Linked DNA regions of Homo sapiens: regions 1 and 2 are each linked to region 3. Evidence: promoter capture Hi-C in 16 types of primary human blood cells and fetal thymus (Javierre and others, 2016). All regions are on one chromosome and are shown on one strand. The core of a region is centred on a gene start or on the middle of the fragment in contact, and the rest is flanking DNA. Distances in the headings are between cores, read along the strand shown.

Evidence for each region. The method cuts DNA at HindIII sites, captures the fragments that hold promoters and counts their contacts. A CHiCAGO score of 5 or more calls a contact.
Region 1: a contact is called between a fragment that was not itself captured here and the fragment with the promoter of LNCSRLR in region 3, in 4 of 17 cell types (M2 macrophages, neutrophils, monocytes and 1 more). The highest score is 10.8, in M2 macrophages.
Region 2: a fragment that was not itself captured here is called in contact with the fragment with the promoter of LNCSRLR in region 3 in 2 of 17 cell types (M1 macrophages and M2 macrophages); the score reaches 5.6 in M1 macrophages.

Annotation. Positions count from the first base shown.
Region 1 is chr3:146,598,000-146,602,133 of GRCh38, reverse strand. It overlaps PLSCR5 (phospholipid scramblase family member 5), which reads left to right. Exons shown (of 8, transcript NM_001085420.2): 2 at 1,671-1,846. Among named protein-coding and RNA genes, the nearest start is that of PLSCR5, 5.3 kb to the left of the region's middle. The HindIII fragment of the contact is 6,456 bases long and covers 1-4,134 here.
Region 2 is chr3:146,618,440-146,622,437 of GRCh38, reverse strand. No RefSeq gene overlaps it. Among named protein-coding and RNA genes, the nearest start is that of PLSCR5, 15 kb to the right of the region's middle. The HindIII fragment of the contact is 4,176 bases long and covers 204-3,998 here.
Region 3 is chr3:146,067,087-146,070,935 of GRCh38, reverse strand. LNCSRLR (lncRNA sorafenib resistance in renal cell carcinoma associated) reads left to right here and starts at 1,751. Exons shown (of 2, transcript NR_146297.1): 1 at 1,751-2,117. PLOD2 (procollagen-lysine,2-oxoglutarate 5-dioxygenase 2) reads left to right here. Exons shown (of 20, transcript NM_182943.3): 20 at 64-1,496. The coding sequence ends at 219. The HindIII fragment of the contact is 7,145 bases long and covers 1-3,849 here.

The sequences.
Region 1 (4,134 bases), core at 737-3,236, 530 kb before region 3:
GGGGTACTTGCGGAAACCAAACTGCTATAGTATTATCAGTAGGAAGCTGTATTTTAGTAGGGCCATTTGACAAGTTATTCCATTTGGTCCTAACCATAAAGCATGTCTACATTCTAAATATCACAGACCAGTACAAACTTAATGGCCCTACACTAATAATAATGAACTCAGTTTATTCGTACAACCTTAAGGTTAAATAAATAAATGAATGAATTTACTTCATGAATAAATAAATGAATGAATGAATGCAGAATATGCTTGAGTTTTCTTAATGATGAGAAATTTACTATCACCAAAGGAAACCCAATTCATTTTTAGAATTTATTTTTCACAGATTTAAAAGATAAAGATGTTTCTTCACCACCCCCCTGCCCCACACACAAACATTCATGAATTTGAGAGTCATTGCTGAAGTGAGAACATTGTAATTTGCTGCTAATTATATGGATTCCGCTTCAATTTTGGTATATGAGTAATGAGAATACTTATTCAAATCTTTGTGTAGCTGTTATAAATTTCCTACTTGTTGTCAATGCAGAAGCAATTTCCTTGTCCCTCTCTTTTGTATGTCTTTAGGACAATCTGATTTACTTGTCTTCATAACGGCCCTTCTCATATTTGAAAATACCTGTCACAAACCTTGCTTCACATCTATACCCAATCTAAAACAGCATAATGTGGATAAACTAACTGAATGCACTTGTGAAATCTCTAACACTTTGTTGATTACTAAACATGAGAAGTAAAAACACTGATATTCTTTGAAAAAAAAATTATATCTAATGAGAGAGATATCCAAGTGGTAGTTATGTGAGAAGAAAAAAATAGTAGAAAGGCTATCATTTATATTTTTAAACAAAACGACTTTTGCATATACCACCTTATTAGGGGTTATACATAAAATTACACAGAGTAATGCAAAGTAAATAACAAACCCCCAAATTTCAAAATAAAAGATGATTAAAATGGTAACATATTTACCTGGCAATAATATAGAAAACAGATGTCTTCTCTAAAAATTTTAGTCAAACTTTATAGAATTCTTTGATTATGATATCTTTTATATTTTGTAATATTGGGTGAGCTACAAAAGGATGCATAGCTTCAAACTATTATTGGTTATATAAATATAGACTTATACAAATATAAATATATAAAAATAAGTATATATATAAATATATAGACATGTATTACTGCATATCTATTCAAGTAACATCGATTTGTATGTATATACCTATATATAGTTATATAATATATAATTTATATATGTATAAAGTAACCGATAATTACTCTCCACATTTTGGTTCATATATGTATATAATATATAATTTATGTATGCATATAAATATATATGCAGTAAGTATATATATGCAAGTAATTATATATATACAGATACATATACACATATGCATATTTTTTTCTAAAGTCTTTTATTTTGGCTAAATTCAACTTTTTCTCACAACTACTACCAGCAGTCTTCTGCGTTTCGTTTTTTCTAACTTAGGGGACAAGTAATAATGGCAGTGAGTAGTGAAAAGAAGGAAAAGGGCATTAAAATGAGAGGCAGGAGATAAACTATCCTATCAATCAAGAAGTAACAAATACTTTAAGAAGGACTAAATAAAATGGCCTAAATTTAAATATGGATTGGGATTTCCATTCTCTTGCAGATGCCCAGAACCAAAGAAGAGGTCTGCCTGGTTTTCTTCCTGGAGCTCCAGACCCAGACCAAAGCCTTCCTGCCTCTTCCAATCCAGGGAACCAAGCATGGCAGCTGAGTCTCCCTCTGCCAAGCAGTTTCCTGCCAACAGTCAGTCTCCCTCCTGGTCTAGAATATTTAAGCCAGGTGTTTTTATCTTTCTATTACTACAGATATGTTCTACCCTTAAAATTAATACAAACTTTCTTTCTGGCTTTTCAATCAAGGTTGAAAGAATTTAACCAATAATTTACTGAAATGAAAAAAGCATTATAAATCATAAAATTATAAAATATTAACTTTATTTATTTCTACTATTTTTAAAAGTGTATCTTATTACTACTTTTATCTTCCTTATTTATTTGACAGAATGATGAGACTAAATATTTTTGATGGAGCTGTTTAGCATATTTATCCACTTGTTCATTGTTCAAGGTGTCAGTAAATTTTTGCTCAAGAAATTGTCTAATATGCCAGGCACGGTGGCTCACGCCTGTAATCCCAGCATTTTGGGAGCCCATGGCATGTGGATAAGCCAGGAGTTCCAGACCAGGCTGCGCAACATGATACAACCCTGTCTCTATAAAAATTATCAGGGCATGGTGACATTTGCCTGTGGTCCTAGCTACTCGGGATGCTGAGGTGGGAGGATCACCTGAGCCCAGGAAGGTCAAGGCTACAATGAGCTGTGATCTCACCATTGCACTCCAGACTGGGTGACAGAGTGAGACTTGCCTTGGAAAAAAAAAAAAAAAGAAAAGAAAAGAAATTTTCTAACATATCTAGTCATCTACAGCTATTTATTTAAAGAATATTTGTCGAGTGCTTGCTATACTAGAGACATATAAAAAGCACGAAACCTAGCCCCTCTTACCCAAAAGTTCTGCAACCTAATTGGCAAGACAAAAAAAAAAAAAAAAGTTAATGCAAAGTGCAAGCCTGTGTACAAATGACTGATAAACACACTATTGTAATTTGTGCAGGTGTATAGAGGAGAGAGAGGTTGTTAAGGATCAAAGTACTAGAGAGACTTCAACAATGAGCTGAGTTCAATGTCTTCAACTGAATCTCAAAAGGAGGACACAAATCCAAGACAAAGCGGTTATAAAGTGAACATTGTCTGCTGATACCACTGCATCTCCAGGCCAATTTGCTTAAAAGAGCATATTGCTATTGGGTATAGTCACTGTTCTAGTCATTGTAAAGTAGGCAGGATTCAAGCCTTATAATAAATCAATCAAAATATCACTATCTGAATTTTATGGCATATAAAATTCAGCTATTGCTATTCATGTATGTATATTATTGTTGCTTTTGTATTTTATCCTAAAAAGGATTAGAAGTACAATTACACTAATATTGAGATGTCAGCACATCTGCTGCAATTTTCAGCTTGTTTGGCATTCTTTCAAACTATAAAGTCTATCTCCTTTATCAAAATCAAATCTCTGTGTTAATTCCCTTAAGGTACAAGAGATTTCTGTTATGCCTGATAGGGTTTAAGCTGCACGCAGCATATGTTCCTGGGAAAATGTTTATAATTGCAGATGTCTTCTCCAGAAACCCACTGGCAGACAAATGTACTTTAGAGACTGGAGAGCTCAGGGAGATATGTAAAAGAGCTGGAAACGCAAACCTACCATCTTCCATCTGCAGAAAGGATCAGCTGTAATAGCTGACTAGAGTTGATTAACTGCTGCAAGCTGTTTGGGAATGTTGTCAGACAAGGTTTTGCCAAGTATAAAAGTGATATACCAGTGCCAGAGGGCTGAGGTTTGATGATCACATATGGTCATCACATATTCTTCTTCCATTCATGAATGATGACACACCCGGAGCCAGATGCTTGACATGAATACATTTTTGTTGTGTTCAATAAGTAGAGATATGAGCCCATTGGCTTTGGTTCTAAAATGGAATAAATTTTCCAAAAATATACCTTTGTTAATCATTCCAAGAAAAGAAAAATATGCCACCAATTGTTGAATATTCTACTTCTAAAGGGAAAGGTAATTTCCTCACTTTATACTAAAAGAACATTTATTTACTTTACTTTAAAGCAGTGCACATATAAAAGGATGAATGAGCACTTCCAAACTGTTATGCCATGAGTCTGGAAGAGACACAATATAAAATGAATTTTTAGATGCCAACTTTTCCCTAAAAGCCACAAAAATCAAACAAAATAATGAACATTTGGAAATAGTACATTAATCAATGAATAAACAGGAAATATACAATTAATATGTTCTAAATTTAAAAATTTAAATAAAATATTTTAACATCTATTCTCTTTTAATCAAGTCCATCCAATTACTATTGAGAATCTTGTTTCCATGAACAATTTGAAAATATACATATATGAGTGTTTAGCTATATAATGTACATTAAATCTAAGAGTAAAATCAATAAATTCTTTCCAAATTAAATTTACA
Region 2 (3,998 bases), core at 1,042-3,541, 550 kb before region 3:
TGTGTGTGTGTACACATACACAACTGCTGTTATGTTTTCAAGGTTTATATAATTTATCTTCTATTATTTATGTATAACCAAGACCTTTGGGTTTTATTCATAGGTGGATTACAAAAAGTGAAGACCAATAACAGTATTTATAATATAATGGCATACAATACTTCAGAACAAAGTTGCATGAAAGAAAAAAGTACAAGTAAGCTTAAGCTACTAAATATAAGCCACTAAAGGGAAAATATTCTCAGCATTAAGGTCAAATTAATTCTGTTTTCAGATAATCAATTGCTCAAAATCATGAGTGTGCTTGTTTCTCCACCTTGAACTGCAAATCTAGTTATATATAATTTTAAATGGAAGATAATTAAAAATAATCATATAGTCATCAATATATTATACACAAATATAGCATTATTTATGTTAAACTTTCAATGAATTTATTAATCCTAGGAAAAACTGATAATGAGAATGAAATCACAGCTTCAGAAAGGTAACCTTGGTAACAGTTTGGCTTGGTTTCCATGGTTACAAAGAGTACACTGAAAGACTCAAAGAATCACAATTTCCTTTGATTGGTATATTCTCAAAAATGATGATTTGGAAAGTGACAGAGGATTAAAAAAAGAAAACATATTTTTCTCATGAGGAATGAGACATTGGAAGTAATAATAGCATATTGATGGTTGGACACAAGACAGACCTTTGAAAATTAATGAAACTTTTGCTTCTTCATTAAAATATTGGGTAGAATATCTCCATTTTTAACAGTATGAATCTGCAGACAAAAATTCTTGCTCCTGATTAACTAGCTAAAGTATATTAGATTGTTTATAATCTACTTTAAATATTAGCTTAAAAATCTATTACTTAACTTACCTTGTGAATGAACCCAGACTAAAATACATATTTTTTAAATTTCTGTATTATTTTATGGAGTTTAATAGACAAAAAACTATGTTGTAATAGAAAGCATAGTAAGAAGAGCATTTAGAAAACTAGAGTTGGGTGTATCTCTGTAGCTAGTTGCATAATTTAGGTACATCATTTTAGTTGCAAATTGCTTTTCTTCTCACCAAGTAACTAGCAGTACGCACTATCAAAAATAACACAAAAACTGAAAAACTACCTAAGCTACTGATTAGGAAACACTATTCTGCATGATTTTAATAATGTCCTGCATGCCTTGAATCCCATGATTTTAAAACATTTTCTTTCAACTTGAAACATAAACTTGAAGAGATGCGTAGACAGTCCAGGTAAAAATTGTGGACAAAGCTCTATATACTTTAGTCCCCCAAGCCTCAGAAGACTCAGGAAAAATATTCAACAATCTTCAGGGCTTTTTCTCAGAAGGAAGAATGTTCAAAAGAAAAAGAAGAAGAAGAAGAAGAAGGATTGAACGATCTTTCCCAGAGTTAACTTGGAAAAGCAAAGCAATTGAAGACTAAGCATTAAAAAAAAAAAAATGCAAATCCTCTGAGAGAGGGGAAGAAGGTGAAATGAGTGCACTAAAGGCCATTGATTTAGCTGGGATCGTAACGCCAACCTCAGTCCCCTCTACTATGCAGTGCCTTAAACCTTCAAATTCTAACCTCATAGTCAATAGATCAGTCATTCTTGAAATTTTGTGATCAAAAGCAACAGTTTCTACTTGTGTTTCATTCCAGTGTGAGGAGACAGTGTGGAAATGGCTACGGGAAGAAGTGATGAGAGAATTACCTAGGCTAACCGCCTCAGGAGCAAAGGTGGGCTCCAGGGTCCACTTTATTTTGAATGCAAGAGCGCCCACCACAGAACAGAAGCAGCTGCACAGCCAACTTAGTATATTGAGACTTGATACAATATATTTCACAAAAAAATGGAAAAAGAAGCACAGAAAACACATCCTTTATATAAAATATCACAGAACCTAGGTTGAATTCTCCTCTTGAAACTTTGTGGTCTTAGGCTACGTAAAAGTAATGCAATGTGAAATAGCAGTGTTAAACTGAAGCTCTGTGAATTTTAAATTAGGTTGAAAAATTTACCCACACTGCATCATAACAATTAGAAGACCATGATATAGAAAAAAGAAAGCAGCATGTCAATACTGCAAATATACCATTATAAAAGGAAGGAATAAAAAAGAAAGAAAGAAACAGATAAAAGAAAGAGAGGAAGGAAAGAGGAAGACGAATGACCAAGGAGGTAGGAAGGAATAATGGACTACAAAAATGAAATAAAAAATCAACTCTAGAAGAAAAATATTACCTAATGAAATAAAGAAAAATATTGCACTGTTTCTTGGCAAAGAACTTACAGAAAACACATTCAAGGTATCAGTATACTAAGTTTACAATAATAAAATAGCAGATTAAAGTGAAAATACAGAGCTAAGAGCAAAACTGAAGGGGAAATAACAGTATTAAAGAACTAAAAAATAATTGGAAAATAACAGGTAAAGTAAGTAACCTAGATAATATTAAATAACATAAGTAGAACAGATAACACAGCCTTGCGGCCATAAAGTGAATGCAGAGAAACAAGACCAAGTGATTAAAGTAACTAGAAAAAAAAAAAACTATAGACAAAGAGCAGGGAATAAAAGTAAAACCTAAAATCCAGAATAACCTTGTATGCTAAGTAGAGAACACAATCGATGGGACAAAAAAGTTTCTTAAGAAAAAAATCTAACATATAGTAGTCCACCTCTTGAGATTCAAGGGTAAAGATAGACTTCTTCAGTCATGTAAGCAGTAAAAGCAAGACATTTATGAGGTGGAGAATGCATATTGTCTTCAGACATCCACATAAATATTCAGAGACTATAGAACAGTCTACAGTGTAACAGGACATGAAATGTAAACAAAGAATGCTATACTCAACCAATCTGCCAAGCAAGTATAAAGGCAACAGAAATTTTCAGATACACCTGAATTAAGAAAATATGAACCCATGAACCCTTCATGAAAACACAGCATCATGACAAATATAACCACCAATGATATGGTAATGTTGTGGTTAAAAGGCTAATGATAAACTCTAAAAATTCTATATGTAAGACTTAGACTTAAATGTTGTTAAGAAATATGATTGTGGAAAACAACTTTTGACTTTATTAAATATGCATGATCAGTTTGTAAGGTTGAGGCTCTAAAAGAATACAAATAAAACATTTAGCTTCCAAGCCAAGAAAGAAAAAGAAAATAAGGAGGAAGAATTAATAAAACTTTATCAATTCAAAAGGAGACAATGTGACTTTTTTAAATGAATCAGGAAAATAATATGCAACATATAAAATAAGATGGTAGAAATAAGCCCAAATAAATCAGAAATTGAAATAAATATAAAAGTAATATACATATTATATACTTGTCTACTGGAATATGTATATTACCAGATTGGATGGTTTTTTAAAAATCAGCTATATTTATTTTACATTTAAAATTTTGGGGGGCATATGATCTAGAAATTGAGTTAATCACAAACCTGTTTAATTCAACATTATCAGAACCATCTCTTATTTAGGTATTGCTTTACACTAATGTACTTGATGCATGTATTGGTGTGTATCTTGAAATAGCTTTAAGATTGTTTTATGTTGTGTGTTTCAACTATTTTGTTGTCATCTTGAGAATTAACTGTAGGGAACAGGGGCAGAAATGAGAAGTTTGTTTATGAGATGACTGCAATAACACAGGCAACAAAATATTACGACTGGACTAGGATGGAAGTCGTAGAGTGCTGAGAACTGGTTGGAGTCTTTATGTATTTTGAAGGAAGAGCCAAGGGATTCTGTATGTAAAATATATGGTATATGATTTTTTTTTCTATGAACTCTGCAGAGAAGTAAAAATATAAGGTATGAGATAAAGAGGGGAGTCACCAATGGCCACAAGATTTGGCCTAACTGGAGAGATACAGTTGGCATGGACTTGGTGGGTAAAGCAGATTAGGAGTTCAGTTTTCATCCTGTTGAGTTTGAAGTGTTATTATACAAGTAAAGAATGCAAAACAGAAGC
Region 3 (3,849 bases), core at 502-3,001:
TAATTTGAATTTTGCCACTGGTTAAATATAATCTGATGTATTTCTTCATTTTAACTTTTTTAGGGAGGTGGTTGCAAATTTCTAAGGTACAATTGCTCTATTGAGTCACCACGAAAAGGCTGGAGCTTCATGCATCCTGGGAGACTCACACATTTGCATGAAGGACTTCCTGTTAAAAATGGAACAAGATACATTGCAGTGTCATTTATAGATCCCTAAGTTATTTACTTTTCATTGAATTGAAATTTATTTTGGATGAATGACTGGCATGAACACGTCTTTGAAGTTGTGGCTGAGAAGATGAGAGGAATATTTAAATAACATCAACAGAACAACTTCACTTTGGGCCAAACATTTGAAAAACTTTTTATAAAAAATTGTTTGATATTTCTTAATGTCTGCTCTGAGCCTTAAAACACAGATTGAAGAAGAAAAGAAAGAAAAAACTTAAATATTTATTTCTATGCTTTGTTGCCTCTGAGAATAATGACAATTTATGAATTTGTGTTTCAAATTGATAAAATATTTAGGTACAAATAACAAGACTAATAATATTTTCTTATTTAAAAAAAGCATGGGAAGATTTTTATTTATCAAAATATAGAGGAAATGTAGACAAAATGGATATAAATGAAAATTACCATGTTGTAAAACCTTGAAAATCAGATTCTAACTGGATTTGTATGCAACTAAGTATTTTTCTGAACACCTATGCAGGTCTTATTTACAGTAGTTACTAAGGGAACACACAAAGAATTACACAACGTTTTCCTCAAGAAAATGGTACAAAACACAACCGAGGAGCGTATACAGTTGAAAACATTTTTGTTTTGATTGGAAGGCAGATTATTTTATATTAGTATTAAAAATCAAACCCTATGTTTCTTTCAGATGAATCTTCCAAAGTGGATTATATTAAGCAGGTATTAGATTTAGGAAAACCTTTCCATTTCTTAAAGTATTATCAAGTGTCAAGATCAGCAAGTGTCCTTAAGTCAAACAGGTTTTTTTTGTTGTTGTTTTTGCTTTGTTTCCTTTTTTAGAAAGTTCTAGAAAATAGGAAAACGAAAAATTTCATTGAGATGAGTAGTGCATTTAATTATTTTTTAAAAAACTTTTTAAGTACTTGAATTTTATATCAGGAAAACAAAGTTGTTGAGCCTTGCTTCTTCCGTTTTGCCCTTTGTCTCGCTCCTTATTCTTTTTTTGGGGGGAGGGTTATTTGCTTTTTTATCTTCCTGGCATAATTTCCATTTTATTCTTCTGAGTGTCTATGTTAACTTCCCTCTATCCCGCTTATAAAAAAATTCTCCAACAAAAATACTTGTTGACTTGATGTTTTATCACTTCTCTAAGTAAGGTTGAAATATCCTTATTGTAGCTACTGTTTTTAATGTAAAGGTTAAACTTGAAAAGAAATTCTTAATCACGGTGCCAAAATTCATTTTCTAACACCATGTGTTAGAAAATTATAAAAAATAAAATAATTTTAGAAAGTTTTGTTGTTCTATTATTGGTGTTTATCTTCCAACGTGAATACATGATGGAATTGTCTGAAAGAATGAAGCCTTTGATTTTTCATTTTGCTTAGTAGATTTAATGATATACGAAACTATTGAATTATAAATGAAATTATAAAATCTTCAATTTTAGGATGACTAGGGATTTGATCTAACTCGTTTTCCAAGTGAGAAAATAGAAGCCAAATGTTATTCAATATAGGTTTATTTGTTTATTAATATTTTCTGGGTCTCTATTATGGGTCAGGCACTGTTCCAGGCACCAAGGATATGTTGATGAAGAAGACATTATAGTCACTGTGAGATGGACTTAAAAAGATAAGGAAGTTGGTTCTACTCCTGTTCTCTTCTTTGGCGACACTTAATACCCAAAGAAAATTTCTACTATCCATCAACTAGGATAAGGAGACATTTTAGTAATGATTTGTGAATTATGTTACTGTACATCAGGAATGGTTTTCAAAATATGTAACACCTGGTATGATGTAGATGCCAACTCATCGGAACAGACTCTGGTTATAAAAGCAGATCGGTTCGTTCCTACCAGTGCAAGCCAGCTTAATATCTCTTGTGGTACAGTTCAAAGACATCTCCCAGGTACTAGTTATTTTCCATTTTGGTATCCATGGGTGGTTACTTAGCATAACTATTTCAGTCTCATGCCATGTTTTCAGAAATGGGATCCAGGTAGTCTATTGAGCACAGTTTTTTTGTCTTTCCTCTTATCCTACATTCCATGAAATAATATAAAATGTAGCTTTAAAAAGATGATTCATAATTACTGAGAGAAAATTAGAAAAATTCCCATAAGTAGATTAAAAAATTTGAAAAACGGAAAACGAGTAGAATTGGAAGGATGGAGAAAAATACAGCTTGAAACACACAGAGCAGAAGATACAGAAAGTACATCTATTGTTTGATTCATTCATTTTATGCAATATAATAAAGGCTTTTTAAAAAAAATACACACACACACCCATATATATAAACAATTATCCCCTGAATAATATGGGCGTTAGAGGCACTGATCCCCATGCAGTCGAAAATCCACATGTACCTTTTGACTCCCTCAACACTTATCAACTAATAACCTACTGTTGACTGGAAGCCTCACTGATAACATAAACAGCTGATGAACATTTATTTTATATGTTATATGCATTATACACTGTATTGTTACAATAAGCTAGAGAAAACGTTATTTAAAAAATTATAAAGAAAGATAAAATATATTTACTATTCATTAAGTGGAAGTGGATCATCATAAAGGTTTTCATCCTTGTTGTCTTCGCGCTGAGTAGGCTGAGAAGGAAGGGGAAGAGGAAGGGTGTCTCAGGGGTGGCAGAGACAGAAAAAACCGGCATACACATGAGCCCGCGTAGTTTAAGCACATGTAGTCCAAGGGCTTATTGTGTATCTGCAACAATCAGATATCTCTGACAGATGAACCTGATAAAGTCACACTATTTAGAGTATGATACCATTTATGTTAAAAACAAAATACTATATATGTGTGCATAAACCTACAGAAAATTTCCTAGAGAGGAACAACTCTGGAGAGTGGTATGAGATCACGGAGGAGTAAATAGGATTTATGCCTTTTACGTTTTACACTTGTGTTTTTGAAATATTATAGAAATATATTTGTATATTGATTGTTTAAAGAAAAAAAGACTAGAAGGAAAAGGAGACATTCACGTAACTAATTTGAATAAATGGAAGCATATGGATGTCAATAGTAACCGTGTGTGTGTGCGCATGTGTGTGTATGTGTATACATACATTACCAAGGTGCTTTAAATGCTCACCGTGGTAGAATTTTTTCTAATTCTTAATGCGCATAGGAATCAATATGAATATTTTCCTTAATATAGATACTTCAGTAGTCATCCAGTGCATTAATCTTCATTCTGCTTCATCTTTGAAAACACTAGTAATTTATCTGTATTGGTAACTTAACTAAGAGGTCAAATATCCTTCTATGGAATAGAAATGTGGAAAACAATGAACATATGAGTTGAGTGGTCCATCCTCGTCACAGAATCTCTTTATGTACTCACTTCTGTTTTCCTGTCTGACATACGTATGTCTTGATTTATTTGCTTTTTATGCCCTAAAGCCCATTTTACATGACATGCTGGTAACTTGTCATTCATTTGGAATTTGGAATGGTTATTCAACAGATGTCTTAAAGTTTCAGAAGAGCCCAGTAGAATTTTTAGTCATAATTGAGTCTGTGTAAATAACTCCCTCTGACTAGACTAGAGGTTAACTGTTGCGGAATATTGAAGTCTTCAAGACTTCATGAAAGCAGTGTATCAAACAGAAC